Regions from separate parts of the Homo sapiens genome. Here region 2 is linked to region 1. Evidence: promoter capture Hi-C in human tissues and cell types (Jung and others, 2019). All regions are on one chromosome and are shown on one strand. The core of a region is centred on a gene start or on the middle of the fragment in contact, and the rest is flanking DNA. Distances in the headings are between cores, read along the strand shown.

Evidence for each region. Contacts are between HindIII fragments. The study calls those that stand out against the background at their distance.
Region 2: a fragment that was not itself captured here is called in contact with the fragment with the promoter of MYO15B in region 1 in 3 of the 25 tissues and cell types used here (IMR-90 fibroblasts, small bowel and spleen).

What each region holds. Positions count from the first base shown.
Region 1 is chr17:75,586,550-75,589,049 of GRCh38, reverse strand. MYO15B (myosin XVB) reads right to left here and starts at 1,250. Exons shown (of 64, transcript NM_001395058.1): 1 at 1-1,250. The coding sequence starts at 992. RefSeq lists a silencer at 19-148 and enhancers at 1-600, 1,029-1,098, 601-1,434. The HindIII fragment of the contact is 22,601 bases long and covers 1-2,500 here.
Region 2 is chr17:75,705,722-75,709,713 of GRCh38, reverse strand. SAP30BP (SAP30 binding protein) reads right to left here. Exons shown (of 11, transcript NM_013260.8): 10 at 3,622-3,706; 11 at 1,655-3,374. The coding sequence ends at 3,193. Among named protein-coding and RNA genes, the nearest start is that of ITGB4, 14 kb to the left of the region's middle. RefSeq lists an enhancer at 2,124-3,323. The HindIII fragment of the contact is 8,365 bases long and covers 1-3,992 here.

The DNA of each region.
Region 1 (2,500 bases), core at 1-2,500:
GGGTCCTCCGGCCCCGCTCCTGCTGCGGCTCCCGCTTCGCCCTCGCCTGCCGCCGCTGGCACCTGCCCCACCGCCTTTCCGACCTGGTGGCGCGGAGCCCGGGCCGTCGAGGCCTGCATTGTTTCTGGCTCGGCGCCCCGCTGCGCCCGGTTGTCGCTCGCGTCCTTGGCCGGCCCAGTGTCCCGAGGAGCCCGCGAGCTGTCCTCGAAGGTCCTGGAGGCCATAGCTGCCCGAGAGCCCCGTCCAGGTCCGGTCCCCAGCGGACTCGAGTCGGAGTCCCCGCCGGAATGCTCGCTGGCTCCCAGGGGCCCCGTCCCCGACGACCCTTCCCGGCCCCGGGTATCTGCGTGGGGCCAGTCGCTGTCCAGGCCGTCGCTGCTTGGCTCCAGCGCTGACTCCGGCCCGGTTTTTGTCCCTTCCGAGCCCATGTCCGTAGGCTCCGGCGTGGGCCGCAGCTCCCGGGCTGTGCCGCGCTGGCTGCCGCTCTCCTGGGCCTCGCGGGTTTCGCTGTCCGGACAGGAGCTGCCTCCGTCCCCACCCGACGTGTCCCCATTGAGGCTCCTGGGCGTCCGGCGGCCCCGCCGAGCCGAGGGCCCCTTATCTTTCCGCTTCCTCCTACGGCGGCCGCCCAGCTCTTCTCCTCCGGAGAGGCTTCCCTCCTCCAGGCGCCCCCCGCGGCCGCCCCTGGGCCCGCGTCCCTGACGCTGCGCGTTGCTTTGCCTCTCCTGGGCTTTCGGGGACAGCCCAGCCCCTGGGCGTCTGCAGCCGCCGTTCCCCTCTGCAGTGGGCTTCCTGCGGCCACCAGGGGTTCCCTGGCCCCCGGCGGTGGCAGGCTCGGCCGCCGGTTTCGCCCTGTCCGCCTGCCCGCGGTCGGAACGGCGTTCCCGGCTGGGCGCGCCATCCGCGCTGGCCGACCCCGACTCCTGCTCCCCTGAGGCCGGCCTCCCGGGCCTCTCCAGGCGCTGGGGCGCTTTGCGCTGGTTCCTGCCCATGGCTGGCCCAAAGGAGACGGGCTTCCCGACGCCCAGGTCCTTTCCCCTCCCCGGGGATTTGGCCTCCCGCGGTGACCTTCTGTGCAGTGCACCACCCGGCTCTGCTCTCGCAGGGGCTACAGGCTCTACTCCCCGAGGTGCCCGCCTTACAGGACCATCAATAATGCAGAAGGCGGCGGGTCCTGACCCCCTCGGCCAACAATGGAATAGAGGCGCCCAGGAAACAGGAGACGCTACAGCTGCGGACAGGGCAACAGTGCCGCCGGGAGGCGCTGCCAGCCAGGCCAGCCTCGCACCGCGCCAGACTGAGGGGGTCCATGCTCCACTCCCACCTCAGTGCTTGCCCAGCAAGGAAGGGCCCAGAGAACCTGTCTGGACTTCTTCCTTCTGAGGGTTCCAAGGGACTGGGGCCAGGCCCACCCTGGCACACGGCAGCACTCCATGAGTCGCTAGGGTTTTTGTTCTTTTCAATTGTGGAATAAATACAATTTACCGAAAAGTACATAAAACATAAATGTACATCTTGAACTGGTGTAAAACATGCCTGTCTACCTCCTTGGAGTTGTGGAACAGAACCACACCCCATACATTCCTGATTGCCCCAATGTGTGTGTTTTTAAAATATCTATTTTTAAAACAGGTAATACATTCACATAATTCAAACATCCAAACATTACAAGATAAAAGTCTCCCATTCCTGACCCTCAGCCTATGTACTCAGTGTTCCCCTGAGGTTACCCATTTCTGTATTTCCTTGCAAAATTTTCCAGGTTGGCCGGGCGCGGTGGCTCACGCCTGTAATCCCAGCACTCTGGGAGGCCAAGGAGGGCGGATCACGAGGTCAGGAGATGGAGACCATCCTGGCTAACATGGTGAAACCCCCGTCTCTACTAAAAAATACGATAAATTAGCCGGTCGTGGTGGGGGGCGCCTGTAGTCCCAGCTACTCGGGAGGCTGAGGCAAGAGAATGGCATGAACCCAGGAGGCAGGAGAGAATGGCATGAACCCAGGAGGCAGAGCTTGCAGTGAGCTGAGATCACACCACTGCACTCCAGCCTGGGTGACAGCATTTTGTTTGTCTCAAAAACAAAGAAACAACAACAAAAACTTTCCATGCAGAGAAAAGCAAATATTATATTTTTCCCCTTTAGCACAAGTGGTAGCTTATGTAGCTCCGGGGTCTCCACTTTGCCTTTTTCACTTAACAATGTAATCTGGTGATTTCATAATAATACCATAAAAAGCCAGCCTGCCTTCCTCCCTTCTCTCCTCCCTCTCTTCCTTGCAAATAAATGCACCATGGTTGAACCAATTCCTTATTGATGGGTTTCTACATCCAAAGTGGATCCTGGCCAAGTGAGGTGGCTCATGCCTGTAATCCCAGCATTTTGGGAGGCCGAAGTGGGTGGATCACCTGATGTCAGGAGTTCGAGATCTGCCTGGCCAACATGGTGAAACCCCATCTCTACTAAAAATACAAAAATTACCTAGGTGTGGTGGCACATGC
Region 2 (3,992 bases), core at 1,445-3,944, 120 kb before region 1:
AAAGTGCTGGGATTACAGACGTGAATCACTGCGCCCGGCCCCTTGTTCTTTTTTGTGTGGCTTAATAGCCTTCCAACCCCCTCCGCCCCTGAGAGGGAGTTTTGCTCTTGTCGCTCAGGCTGGAGTGCAATGGCGCAATCTAGGCTCACTGCAACCTTCGCCTCCTGGGTTCAAGCGATTCTCCTGCCTCAGCCTCCCAAGTAGCTAGGATTACAGGCACCTGCCACCACGCCCGGCTTTTTTTTTTTTTTTTGAGATGGAGTCTTACTCTATCGCCCAGGCTGGAGTGCAGTGGCGCGATCTCGGTTCACTGCAAGCTCCGCCTCCTGGGTTCACGCCATTCTCCTGCCTCAGCCTCCTGAGTAGCTGGGAATACAGGCACCCACCACCACACCCAGCTAATTTTTTTTGTATTTTTAGTAGAGACGGGGTTTCGCCGTGTTAGCCAGGATGGTCTCAATCTCCTGACCTTGTGATCTGCCCGTCTTGGCCTCCCAAAGTGCTGGGATTACAGGCGTGAGCCACTGCACCAGGCTCAATAGCCCTTAAAAAATCCCTTATTATAGAGATTTCCAAATAGATACAAAATTAAAGAGAATATTGAACACTCCTGTACCTATCACTGAACCTCAATAATTGTCAATGCATCACCAATCGACAGCAGCCCTTTGGAAATCGAGCCCTAGGAGGCTTGAGTGATGCTGTGAGCACAGGGCTTGGGGGCTGGAAACTTTCATTTCAGTGACCCTAGGAGCAGAGACCACCCCTTTGGAAGATGAGCAAACTCACCTCTCCTTTCATCCCTCCATTCCCCCAACCACCTGTGTACTTATCTCATGCCAGGCACTGGAGCAGAGTGTTATTTATGCCTGCTTTGTTTCTGCTTACAAGAACTAGGAGACATGAGCTGTCTCATCCCGCTTGTGGGCAGAGATTACACGGCAGTTCAGTGTGATCCTAAAAGCAAGGGGGTGCTGTGAGTGTTGAGAAAGGAGCACCTACCTGTCCAGCAGAGTCAGGAGGGGATTATACAAACCTGAGACACATCTTGGGGTACTACATGTGCAAGGTGGGAAGCTAAATGAATCCTGATGCCCACCCAAGATCAGAGCCCTCGGGAGAGGTAGCAGGTGTGTGGGTGGGGGACAGTAGGAGCCGTGGACAGAGTTCAGTTTGGACACTGTTCTCTGGCGAGCAGACACACACTGGTTAGAAACAACTTTGGCCCCTAGTGCCTGGGCCATCCACCCACAACAGGAACTGTTCACACACCTCTGGGCCATCCTTGATGTGACTAAGGTGGGCAAGCACCATTTTATAGAAGAGTAAATGAAAGTCTAGAAGGATTAAAAACCTTGACCCAACTCACGAGGCTGGTAAGTGGGGCAGCAGTTTTGGCCTGGGGTTGCCCAACTTCTAAGCCTATGTTCATTCTCCAGGCCCCCTACCTCTGCGGCCCCGCAGGAGACAGTCATTACTGCTTTAACTGGACAGATGAATGGCAGCGCCAGGGCTGCCCAGAGGAAAGCGGGGAGGGGAAAGACCTGCCAAACCCTACCCCGCCGACAGAGCACGAGACGGGGGACAGGCCAGGAGTTTGCTTCTCTCCTTGGTCTACAACAAAAAAAAATTGGATTTAGCCAACAAAAAACACTGGCAGGAACTTTACAGTTTATAAAGCTTTTGCATAAGTCACCTCTGGTTCTTCCCAACCATCTTACGACGCTTTATTACTGTGATTTCAGAGAAGAAACAGGCTTACAGAGGTTAAGGGCTTGAGACCACTCAACTGGTTTTAAGTGGAATCCAGACCAGAGGTGCCGGCTCCACGTCTACTGCCCTTTCCACGGTGCCATGCTGCCTCCCACAAAACATCCACAGTGCCCTTGGCCAATGAGGGGCCGCCATCGGAGGTCACAGGAAGCCTTTTCACAGTCCCTCTGGGGCATGAGTGGGGAGCAGCTCTTCTCCCCAGAGCTTTAAAGCCCCATCGAGGAAGGGGTGAGAACTGACCTCCTGAAGTGCCCGAGTGTGTGTGTACGGGGAGAGTGGACTCAATTTTTATTTTTGAAACCTCATGCACAGAGTTCCTTATATTCCCCAGGTCCCACAAGAGTACCAGGTGCCATTTCAGAACCACCTTTCTAAACCTCTGCCCACCCACTGAAAGCAACACGGCCCTTCACAGCCTGGCTTCCTTCTTTTGACACACAGCCCTTCCGCTCCAGTGGAGAATCGCCAAAGATCATGAAGGGTAAATAGTCTCCTCTGAACCCCTGGTCTGGGAAACCCGTTTCAACCCCGGGGGGAGCCCAGTGGCCACTGGTGCTGCCCAGGGGCTGCTGTGGGGCAGAGATAACACACAGAGGAAGGGTGGGGTGGCAGGAGCCCTCCCAGGAGCAGGGCTTGCCTGTAAACAATGAGCTGCCGCCTCGCCAAGGCAGGAGGTGATTCATCTCCCCCGCTGCTCAGCTCCTGCTGGCTGCGCTCACCGGGCACCAAAGGACTGGGGCAGCCCTGGCCAGGCGCTGACGCCTCCCCACTCTCTGCACAGGTCAGGATCTCACCCCAGCCCTTCTGGAAACTGGCTTGACTTCAAAAGCCTTCCTGGGTGTGTCCAAAAAGTGATCTGGTCTGGGGAGTGCTCAAGTGCACTCAAGGGAGCACAGCTCCACCATCACCCGAGAACTGGCTGGGTTTTGGGATCAAGGCGGCAGATGGGGCATACGTGGGGCTCGGGGACTCCCGCCTGTCCATGCCCAGAGGCATACACGGATAACAACGGTGACTTCTTGGGTCACCCCTCTGAACAGCGTCCCAGGCCTCCATCACCCTGTTGTCAACCCTGAGGCAATAGTCCCAACCAAGACTATTGAGTCTTGGGGGACATGTGAGCTGAAGCATTTGCCTGCAAACAGAATGCAGGAGAGGCCAGTGCATCTGAGATGCCAAGAGGTAAGAATACGGCACTTTTAATAGGCGGCAGACCCCAGGTGGTGCGTGGACAGACCCTGTCCACAGCGCCTGGCTCCCGTGCTGCCTGTCCTTCCATCTGGAATGCCAAACAGAAGCTCCTCTCAGGTGGCATCTGGGGAGTAGGTCCCAGTCCTGAAATATACAAAGTGGCGCCTCCCACTGGGCAGTGGTCACTGGGCTGCACGGTCCTTTCAAGTCCTAGGGTGGCCCCTCAGGTCACTGCTTGGCCTTCTTCACAATGGTGCCCACAGCAGAGATGACGGTGGTCTTGGAGCCGCTGGCGCTGGTGGTGACCGTGACAACAGCTGGCAGGGTGGCTGTGGTGGTGAGGATGGTGGGCTGGGCTATCGTTGTCACTGGGATAGCCGAATCCCACTTGCTCTTTCTCTTCTGAGCATCTGGAGATAAAGCAGAAATCAGGATCACGATCCACCAATGAGCGGTGCCCTCTTTCCCTTCCCCCTGCAGGCCAGCGGGAGTCTAGGGAGCAGACCCCGAAGTGGCCCACCCCAGACTCCAAAGGTGCTTCTCAAAGTAGCAAGGCTGAGCCCAGGCCCAGATCCACGTGCTGTCTGTCGCCCAAACAAGCCAGGGAGACCCTGGCTCCATGTGTGTGGCAGGAGGCAGGGCAGCTCTGCAATCTACCTGCAACAGCTGTGCTGGCAGTGGTAGTGGTGGTGGACGTGGCGTTGGTCGTGGTGCCTTTTTTGGTGCCCGTCACAAACTCAATCTGGAGAGGGAGAGGGAAGAGAATAAGACCAGGCAAAGCTGGGTGTCCACAGCTTTTTGCCATCCGTCAGCTCCTGGGGGACAGGAGCTTGGCACTACACAAAAGAGGCATTGGAAATGAACTCTGCTCTGCCCATCTGGGGTAGGGCGAGATGTCTAAGAAGAACCCAAAGGGGCTTTTCACTCTTAAAAGAACTTTCCAAACAGTACTGTATCCCTCCCGGCATCACCAGGTCTCTGCACATGCCCGGCACCCCCCGCCCACCGCCCCACCTCACATGCCCAGA